Linked DNA regions of Homo sapiens: region 1 is linked to region 2. Evidence: promoter capture Hi-C in 16 types of primary human blood cells and fetal thymus (Javierre and others, 2016). All regions are on one chromosome and are shown on one strand. Each heading gives the region's core, a stretch centred on a gene start or on the middle of the fragment in contact. The rest is flanking DNA. Distances are from core to core; before and after follow the strand shown.

Region 1 (5,232 bases), core at 1,838-4,337, 220 kb before region 2:
CGGGAATTGGTGGCATGATTTGCAAAGGGAGTAACCTCTGATCCTTTTGTTACTTGATTGTGGAGAGGTGGGATTTTCCTTTTGATTGAGTTCTAGGAAGTGAGTGTGAATCATCCTTAGGTTCCCTGCCTCCAGATCCTGTTCTGCCTCACTCCTTCAGATCTGGGGCATCCCTCTCCTTGCCAGCCTGCCCCTCCCCTTGGCTCCCAGGAGGCTCCTCAAGGCTGTCTTTGATGACTCAGGAGAACCTGAAGTGGGGAAGGCAGCCAGGTCTTGTTTAAATTCTTACAATATATTTTAAGACAAAAGTCTGGCATATCTTGTCAGAGTTTTCTACATAGATTACCTGTCACCTGTGAATTAAGATAATTGTACTAATTTCTTTCTTATCCAGAAGCCCTTTTATTTCTTTCTCTTTTTTTAATTTCACTGGCCAAAACATCCAGTGAGGTATTGCTTCTCACAAGATGGCATTAGCTGTGGGGTCTGTCCACAGACCCTGACCCAAACGACCTATGAATAACTCGTACGCTGAGACACTGATACTCTGTTTTGCCAGTCCTGCTGAGTGTCCGACCGCCTGCACACCAAGAGAGGTTTGTCACTGTGGCTGGCCCTGAGCAGCTTGCACTCCAGGCATTTATTTTGTATAGAATTAACAACAGAAGCTTTGAATAAACACACTTATGGATAATTAACATGGTTGATTGTAGTTCTACTAACGATTAAAACTCAGGTACCATGGTTTAAAGTAAATTCCATTAGGGGGCAATATCTTTGGTCAATCTCACCCTGAGAGGGCCATCTGGCTCAAAGATTAGTTAGTGGAGGTAGGGTAATCAGACTTAACCGGGGAAGCCTCTATTGTCCCTAGTATTTACCCTATGACCTAATGCTCTAAGGTAAGAACCAGCTGCCTTCAGCCTGTTTAATTATTACAAGCTATGTAACATTTTGGCCTTCCAAAAAGGTTTGTAAACTATTCCCTGTTGCTTTCCCTAATGTTTCCCTTTAATATTTCTGGCACCATTCTGAGTGAATCCCAACATTTCCCCGTTTTTGTTTTCGGTATCATGTCTTTTTGATTTCAGATTGCAGATATGTACAGCCATAGGATTGTCAGGTGAGGTGGTCACTGCTCTTATTCCGGCTTTGCATCCTAGAATTAGCAAATAATACAAGACAATTATGAGTACAATTAGCAACATTTGTTTCCAGTCTAAGAGTGACCGGTAGTGTTACCTGGCATCTTAGTTTGGTGAGTACTGTTGCTAAGGAACCCCACTGAGGGTATGTTAACTCCTTCCAGCCAAGCAGTTATGTCATTAGAAGCTGGAAAGGGAGTATTTGTTTAAGTAAAAGGGCTGACAAAAGGCAGATTCAGAAGATGAGCTTAATAGAGTGTAGCAGGTATAGGTAATAGGCAAAGTGAGAGAATTAAAAATGAGTAAATTATTTGGCTTAGCCTTCTGCTTCCTTAGCATAATGTGTGAGGCCTGTGCTGTTCCTGGAAGCCACATTGTTGAGGCTGTGGGTCCTTAGGGTTTTTCCTAGGCTGGCTTGAGTTTTTTTTCTTTCCATCCTTGGATGAGGATACAGTCTCCAGGCTGGTGCTGGTGTACTGGAAATTCTAGGGGTGGTACCTGTGCTAAGAGATCTTTATAATCTTTAAAGAGCAGGATAGTACTTCAAGAAAAACTTGTGCTTCATTTTAATGTCTAGTTTACAGAAAAAAACTGGATACTTTTTTAAATTTAGCCAATATGTTTACATATAGAATTTTTTACAATTAACATTTTACAACTTGCTTAGACTTTCAAAACAAAAATTATACATTTCCTGCATGAATCCCTTTTATAACATTCTTCACGACTTTCACAGACAATTTTTGACATGCCTTAACTTTTTAACTCTGTTTTGTAATCTTCCTTACTAAGGGTGCATTCTTATATTAATAACTTTTTAAATATTTCCTTTTCCTTCTTCCCACTTTCTTTCCTTAGTCTTTCTTTTTGTGTCTCTTTCTGATCTGTTTCTTCTAGTTTCTTTTTAAATCATTCTTTCCCTTTATTTCTCTTTCTAGGGGTGGACATATGCACACATTCTTTCTCATGTTAATAATTTATTTGGACCACACCATTTATTACTGTTCACATTTTTCCATAAAACTGCTGGTTTTATGCCTTGAGAGGTTTTAGCAAAGTGTTTTTCTACAGCTGATTGAAATTTGTCATCTGAATTTAGAAAATTATGGGTAAACAAGGTTTGTGCCAGTAGTGTTGCAGGGTCTTTACCTATATTCCCCTTTTTCTGATTTTTTACTATTGCTTGACCTTTGGAGTTATATGGGATGCCTGTGGAATGTTGAATATTCCACGTGTGATAAAATTGTTGAAATTGTCAGCTGGCATAAGCTGGTCCATTATCAGCTTTAATCTTTGTGGGCTATCCTATAAATGCAAAAGTTAAAAGATGTTTAATGACATCTTGAGTAGACTCTACAGGCAGAGCATGTGCATTAATTAAATGAGTGTTATTATCAATGGATACACACACATATCTTAGTTTTCCAAATTTAGGCATGTGTGTAATATGTTTGCCATAACTGCTTAGGTTCCAATCCTCTAGGGTTAACACTTGTTGAAGGAGGGGACGTGCCTGTGAGCTGGCAATCTGGACATTGTAGGATAATTGTTGTAGCCAGCCTCTGAGTAAGTTGAAATTGTTTAGATAAGTTTCTCCAATTTTGGTGGAAAAATTGATGCGATTGGGTGGCTAGGCCTAGCAGTGATGTCATCACCTGAAGGTCTGCTCGTTCATTGACATAAGCCAATGGGCCAGGCAGTGAGCTGTGGGCTTGAATATGTGTAATAAAAACAGGATGTGTACGTTGGTCCAGCAATTGCCGAAGTCAGAAAAAGAGTACACAGAGTGTGCACCAGAGTAAACTTAATTGAGGCTGTAAAAGTTCTTTAACAAATACACAGAGTAACCTGAGCTCTTTGAGTGCCAGTAAACCTAGATCCAGTGATTGGATTATGTGGTCTCTATTAGACTACTGCTCTTCCATGTTTACCAGACCCATCAGTAAACAGTGTTAAAGCATTTGGTATGGGGGATTGCAATACGGCTTTGAATTGCATTTTACTTAAAGGAATTTTGATGATATCGAGTCATAACTTAGCAATTGACTGCATTAATCATTAAGATGGCAAGCTGAAATAAATAACGTGAAGTTTAAAAAGAAAATCTGAAAGCATCTTTAGAAGCAGAGACTTAAATTATATATTTTAACCATGTGCTTAAAGCCACAGGCAGAATAGCTTAAATGTTGCAATGGAGTTCTCAGGCTGACCAAGTTTATGGACTTTAATCTGGAAAACAGTCTTGAAAACAGTGACTCACTAACTGGGGAACTTAATTTGGGACTCTTTTAGCAAGTATGAATCAAAGACTATCTGTAATCAGTGGGTTAAGACAGTCATTCATGCATGTTTTGGCTACACTTACATATAACTCTTCTTCACCTTTTGAGAAGGGCACAATATTTTCACCTTTTAATTGAACAAATATCATTTAATTAGGTTTAAAGTTCTCCTCTAAGGGTAATGTGTGGTTTTACATGCCTAACTTTTAATTATTCTTTAATTCATGGGCCCTCCTTAATCTCTCTCCCTTCAGAGGCTACTGTTTTACTTAAACTGGATTTGTAGAGCTACCTCGGGGGTAGGAGAGAGATAACAGCAGTGGCTATTATCTGAAAAGAGGTTTTTCAAATTCTTACATTTTACTTAAATTTTAGCAGAGAATTATAATTTGGGATGTCACTTGTAAACAAGGAGCACAGGAAATTTTGCTGTGGGCTGTCTGCAAAGCTAGAGAGTCAGGCAGGTGCGTCCTGGGGCTTTGGCTGCTTTGCACTTGTAAAAGCGCTGCTTTTTGCCTGTGCTGGCTCCCTCCCGCAGGCACCCATTGGCTGTTCCTGGCCAGGGTGGACCCCAGCCTCCCCTTGGGCTGACTTTGTTGTATGTGCCTCTCGCCCCTCCCCTGCAGGCTAGCTCCAATGGTGGCTTAGCTCTTCGTTGCCTCTGCTGCCATGTGGGCGGAGTTTTAGTTTTTTCTCACTGCTTGCTTGGCAATGCAGCTCTAGCTTCTAATGCCCTTTTTTAACCCTTTAGGTATCTGATCGCTTTGCCAATTTTGCGTTACTGGGCAGGCTAAGAGATCTTCTTTTAATTCAGCCTGCTTAAGACGGGAACTGATAACTGTAGTGTATCCTCTGCCTTTTTTCTTATCTATTGGAGGAAGCTCAGGTAAGACCTCCTTTTCCTCTCTGTTAATTCCGCCTGGTGATTAGGGCCCAGGGAAGACGAGGTGATAAGGCAGGTAATGTTTCCTCTTCCTGCCCCTTTTTAGGCTTTTCCGTGTGTGACTGAGCCAGGGCTGCTCTAGTTAAAGCCCATAACGTTAAAGCTGTTACTGGGACTTGCTGCCTTTGCAACTGATGTTTTTAAGATCTCTCCCCACTTGTTTCCCGGAGCTCTATGTCTAGCGTTCCTTCTTCTGGGAACCATGGACTTTGGGATTTAACAGTTTGCATTACAGCAATTTGTCTAGCATGCATGATTAGGTGCCTTAATTGAGCCTGTGAAACTGAAGCTCCACTAGCCTTAAGCAGCTGTTGTAATACTTTTATATAATGTTTCTGCTGTGCTAATAACTGTTGTCCCATGATGAAATCTCAGCTTGAACCAACTTTCCCCAGAACTTGGTAACCTTGAGTGGGCACCAATGACTTACTAGTTACTCACTGACTTGACCACGCGGTTTTTCTTCACCTTTGTTTCCTGGGGGCCCGTCGCATTCCTCAGGCTTCCTTTGCAGCTTTCCTCATGAAAGCGGTCCTTACACTTCCTTCATAGCTTGCCTTACAAGGGGCTCCAACTGCGGAAGGTCTGTTTCTGCAGACCCCTGACTGTCCTCACACAGCTCTCCTCACATGGGGCACCAATTGAGGTATTGCTTCTCACAACAGGGCAGTAGCTACCTGTGTCTGCCCGCAGACCCTGACCCAAACGACGGATGAATAAAATGTACACTGACACACAGATAATCTGTTTTGCCAGTCATGCTGAGTGTCTGACCGCCTGTAAACCAAAAGAGGTTTGTCACTGCAGCTTGCCCTGAGTAGCTCAGACTCTAGGAGTTTATTTAGTGTAGAATTAACAACAG
Region 2 (5,591 bases), core at 3,035-5,534:
TTTGCAGTTAGATCTGAGAGGCAGCCATCATTCAATAGAATAAGTTTGGCTTCTAGTTTCAGATGGGAATACAAATCCTCATAAGGATGTTTCTGCACAATTATTTGCTAAAGCTTTTTGTGAAATGGCGAAGATAATCTCACCTTCCCCACAGGGTTATTGAGAGTATTAAATGAAACAGACACATGTAAATGCCAAGCTCAGAGAGGAACTCAAAGCAGTACAGCAGCAGAGGTCATTTCCCTCTACACACTCCCTGCTGCTTCCGTGGGCAGACATAAGTGTTAGCCAGGCCAATGAAAGCAGTTAAGCAGCCAAGTTGGACTTTGCCAAGGGATCCCACACCACCACCACCCCTTTTAAAGGTTACTACAAAAGTAATCTTAAGAAAGTTTTATATATAATAACTGTGATATTTTTAACTTGATTGCACATCTTATCAAACAGGTATTGATTTTCAGTGCTTTCAATGATTAAGAATAAGGGCAACAAAAAAGAAAATCTGTGTATAATATGATGAACCTGGAATTTTTGGTTTCATACGTGTGTGTATATATATGTATATTTATGTATATATATATATATACACACACAGAGCAGTAATGGCCTTTAAAATAAATTCAAATAATGATAGAAAACAAAACATCTTCATGCATGGTGTAATCTTTTTCCTACAAGAAGGCCTTGTTTTAAAAATGTGCATAAGGTTATGCTTTTGCATATTTTATATAATTTCTTAAAGGTATGTTATCAAATTAATGTTTTCCAGCCAGGGTATCATATTTAAGGGTGATAGTAAATACTCCAAACACACCAGCTGTCACAAAATAATTATGCCTATGTCTATTATTGTTATCTGTTTCTCATAAAATTAATCATAAATGATATGAATTATTGATTAAAATTAGTGTTTATAGACTATAAACCTATGAAAAGCCACAAGAGCAGTATTTTTACATATTTTTCAAGAATTCAGATAACAGTGTAACCTTTGATTATAATAACAGAATTCATTTCTGTAGCAGAATTACAAATACAGCAATTATAAATATAAATGATACTCCGTTAAGTCCATCCTGCTTTTAACTGTGCAACTATTTACAGCCAGAGGCAGGAATAAAAAAGGGTGTATACGTGTGGAAGAAAATTCACTCCATGCTGTTTTTGACCTTGCGTGTAAAAAATAATTCATTACTATCAAAAGAGGCATTTTCCCAAATAAAAACAAACAAGGAAACAAAAACACAGGAAAAAAAAAAAAACTACTTACTGACCGTGACTTAAGTGTGGAGGAAAAAACCCTTTGCAGCTAATGTTGGCAAAAGTGTGTCCCCCGTAGATTTAGTCTAAGAATTAAGAAACTGGCCGGGCGCGGTGGTTCATACCTGTAATCCTAGCACTTTGGGAGGCCAAGGTAGGCGGGCTGCCTGAGTTCAGGAGTTTGAGACCAGCCTGGGGAACATGGCGAAATCCTGTAGTCCCAGCTACTCAAGTGGCTGAGGCATGAGAATCGCTTGAACCTGGGAGATGGAGGTTTCAGTAAGCCAAGATCATGCCACTTCACTCCAGCCTGGGTGACACAGTGAGACTCTGTCTCTAAAAAAAAAGAAAAAAGAAAAAAGAAAAAAATAGCCTGTTTAATGAAGCATTGACAAGGAACCCAGGCTATGATTATAGAATAGGAGCTTCATAGTAATTGTAAGAACTCTGGTTCTTAGAAGACAAAAGTTAAATTTAATAAATAAGTTTAATGGCCAAAATATCTTTTTAAAACTTGTTTGTAGTCTTTAGAATGTGAATTTTATTTGGTTTAGATCTTACTAAGCTATATTTTGTAACTGAAATTAATACTTCATTTTTGCCTGAAATTAGTAGAAAAAACAATAGCTAAAGTTTGCTACAGATAAATAAATGTCAATATTAGACTTTTTTTCTTTTGAAAAGGTAGGGAACTTTAATTAGTAATATAAGTTAAGAAAATGACAAAGATGTCAGATAATGAAGAAAAAATGTGACAGTAATCTTTCATCCAAAAAAAGGTTATGTTCCTATTGTCTAAAGCCAAAATATATTTCATTGCAAATATATATAAAGTTTAAGAATTGTTATTTTAGGCCCTTTCCGCAATAAGCCAACACATAACTTATCATGCCATAAATGTTTTTAAAAGAAATATGATTAAAATTATACAAAACGACATAAAAATTTCAGAAAGAATATTGATAAATATCTTGGTACATAGTAGATTTAGTTGCACAGATATTAGGTGGTACAAGTTTTATATCTTCTATAATAATAACTTTTTATTATCTCCTTGTGCACTAATATTTCAATATGTCAAAGTCATTTGAATAACCTTTCTAGTAAATCTCAACTTCGTAGATTGAAAACTTTTTTAAAAGCTTTATTTAAGTTTAGTGGTACATGTGCAGGTCTGCTATATAGATAAACTCATGTCATGGGGGTTTGATGTACAGATTATTTCACCACCAAGGTATTAAGCCTAGTACCCATTAGTTGTTTTTCCCGATCCTCTCCCTTCTTCCATCCACCACCCTCCGATAGGCCCCAGCGTCTGTTGTTCCCCTCTGCGTGTCCATGTGTTCTCATCATTTAGCTCCCACGTATAAGTGATAATATGCAGTATTTGATTTCTGTTCCTGCATTAGTTTGCCAAGAATAATGGCCTCTAGCTCCATCCATGTCCCTGTACAGGACATGATCTCATTATTTTTTATGGCTGTGTAGTATTCAATGGTATACTGAGTTTTCTTTATCCAGCCTACCACTGATAGGCATTTAGGTTGATTCTTTGCTATTGTGAACAGCGCTGCAAGGAACATACGTGTTCGTGTGTCTTTATGAAAGAATGATTTATATTCCTTTGGGTACATACCCAGTCATGGGATTGCTGGGTTGAATGGTAGTTCTGTTTTTAAGTCTTTGAGGAATTGCCACACTGTTTTCCACAATGGTTGAACTAATTTACACTCCCACCTAGTATATAATCCTTCCTTTTGGAAACAAATTTTATCAGTATATTCAATTCTGAACACCCATGTTTTAGAAAATGTTAAGCCTATTGTCCTTTAATCACTATTTGCTTACACATTAAAATGTAAAACAGGCAAAAGAGAAAGAAGGAAGAAAGGAGGGAGGGAGGGAAGGAGAAAAGTGAGAAAGAAAGAAAGATAAAAGAAAAAAGAAAGAAGAAAGAAAGAAAGAGAAGAAATAAAGAGAAAAAAGAAAGGAAGAAAGGAAGGAAGGAATGAAGAAGAAAAGAAAAAAGAGAAAGAAAGAAGGAAAGAAAAAGAAAAAAAGAAAGAGAAAGAAAGAAAGAAAGAGAAAGAAAGAAAGAGAGAGAGAGAGAGAAAGAGAGAGAAAAGAAAATTTTCTCCAGATTAGAATTATTGGCTGCTATTGTTTGGATGCTGGGTACTAGCTGTGATTACCCTTTGTGAATGTAGGAATGCACAGATTCCAAAAGTGAGTCTCATAGAAAAAGTCAGCATTCAAATATGTTTTAAGGTTACTCTATCCAAACCCCAAAGAACCCACAGAAGATGAAGCAGTAATTTTAGCTTCTCTTGGTGTATTGTACATGCATTTAAGGCCAGTTCCTTCCTTCAAATTCCCATGTGTTTTGTAGTTACCAACACACCTTTCAACCCTATCTGTTTATATACATCATATAGTCCTCTGTCAATTGCATAAAAGTTGTCCCCTTTGTGACTGTAATCGCCTTTTCCAATACACATCTACTCAGAATGCAGGTCCTTAAACAGCAGGCTGCCTTGAAAACCCTCTCCAATCTTCTTCGATCATCAGCTTTGAGATGCATATTCCTAGAGCCCATATCATCTTCTTCATCACTATCATAAACGTCTCCACATATTGATGAACGTTTGGAGAATCGATTTATGACAAGGGAGTTTACTCTTCCTGCATCCGCGGCTTCTTCGTGATTTTGTCCTAGTCACCGGGCCTATCCCACCTGCTGGGGATGCCGCCCCCTCGGAAGTGCCTGAAATCTCCCCACTTACCCAACTAGCCTCAGCGCCTCCTGTGTGCTGCAGCAGATGGCGCGCTGCAGACCCCAGCCTGGTGCCTCCGCGACTCCTCCCCAACCATGATTTACAGGCGGGGACAGCCACATTCCTGCGCCCCAACTTCCACCTCCGCTTCCTGCGCGCGCGAGACTCAAGCTGCCACAGTGGCTCTGCCGCCAGCGTCCCAGCTCCTCCCACACCCGAGTTTTTATTTCCTGCTCCCTCTCCAGCCCGGCCCAGGCCAGCCTACCGGCGACTAGGATGCTTTCGCTTTCGCTCTCGCTTTCCAATACTCGGGACTGGGGAAACCGGGAGAATAGAAGCAGGCAAGGACCGCCGTGGGCACGGGGTCAGTGAGACAGGGTCCTGCTCGCGGCGTCAAGGAGGAGCGCTGTGGGTGGGTAGGGTAGGCGCGCCCCCTCGGCCTTGCCTTTCCAACCACTCTTTTTTGCACGCCAACAGGTGTCCCCAGCGCAGCCAATCGGCTTCCGAAGTAGGTGAGTTGCTGCCTGAAGAGAAAAGACAAACTCCAGTATCTTTCATTCCATTGGCCAGACGCGCCATTCCCCAAGTGAGTTCTGTTCTCCAACCAAAGTGCTGGATTCCAAGGGACTGGAAGGGAAAGTCCCTAAAAATCACGAGTTCAGGCGTCTGAGACTTGGTGGGAACGGACCTTCCTCTTAGGTGAGTTACTCTTTGGTTCTGGGGCTGACCTGGAGTTTTGCCAGGATTCATTGGCCGCAGCAGGATGCTGGTGGGGACAGGGTAAATAAAATCTGCACTCCTGCGGGCTTTTATTGTTGAAAGGGGCACTGACGCTCTCCCTGGAAACTTAAAAAGAACAGCCAAGTGAACGGATGTGTCTTTCTTTTGCAGTGCCCAAGCCTGTTCTAATTTTTAAAAACTGATGTCTATTAAGACCCAATGTTAACTTTATGAAAATGGTTCCTAAGGAGATTCACATCTCTGTGTCCGAATTCTGTGTGCAGCAAACATCATCTCAAGTGCGTTTTCCCAACTACGCTTCTTTCCAGGATAAAATACTCTAAGTGACAAATGTTGAGTACATTATCAGGTATGTTCACTATTGTGAGAACTGAAGCCATCTACACTCACATAGCTTGCCAACTACATTAACCTGACTTCTTATTCCATTATTTTCATCAACATACATTTACTATTTCAAGAAACTTTTGCCAGGGACCGGAAAGTTGCAAATATCTTTATTGCTTAATCCAGTATCTTCTTCAAAGATCCAACCACTCTTCAATGGAAAACATCAAAGAACAGTTTACATTCTAAGACTTTGAACCTTTACCTCAAAATCCTAGCCTTGTTTTATCTACCAATCCTAAACTTTTACCCGTAGCTGACTCAATTCTAACCAATTCCCCTCATTAAATATTAGACTTACAATGGGACTTCAAAATCTCAATACATATAGCCCAAACTTGCTCTTCCCTCTCTGAGACACCACTTAAATTCTGTCAAGTTATTGTTCTCCATTACCTAAGTGAGCAAGAAACTTAGCTTTGTCTTATC

The links. Contacts are between HindIII fragments. The CHiCAGO score rates a contact against its expected background, and 5 or more counts as called.
Region 1: a fragment that was not itself captured here is called in contact with the fragment with the promoter of FAM111A in region 2 in 1 of 17 cell types (fetal thymus); the score reaches 7.6 in fetal thymus.

The regions. Positions count from the first base shown.
Region 1 is chr11:58,923,517-58,928,748 of GRCh38, forward strand. It overlaps a transcript of GLYATL1 not described here. Among named protein-coding and RNA genes, the nearest start is that of GLYATL1, 13 kb to the right of the region's middle. RefSeq lists an enhancer at 3,851-4,365. The HindIII fragment of the contact is 4,843 bases long and covers 667-5,232 here.
Region 2 is chr11:59,138,572-59,144,162 of GRCh38, forward strand. It overlaps FAM111A (FAM111 trypsin like peptidase A), which reads left to right and starts at 4,285. Exons shown (of 6, transcript NM_001312909.2): 1 at 4,285-4,375; 2 at 4,512-4,733; 3 at 4,926-5,124. FAM111A-DT (FAM111A divergent transcript) reads right to left here and starts at 4,237. Exons shown (of 4, transcript NR_110184.1): 1 at 4,044-4,237; 2 at 1,386-1,596. It also overlaps the pseudogene LOC100422399. RefSeq lists an enhancer at 4,053-4,502. The HindIII fragment of the contact is 3,476 bases long and covers 2,401-5,591 here.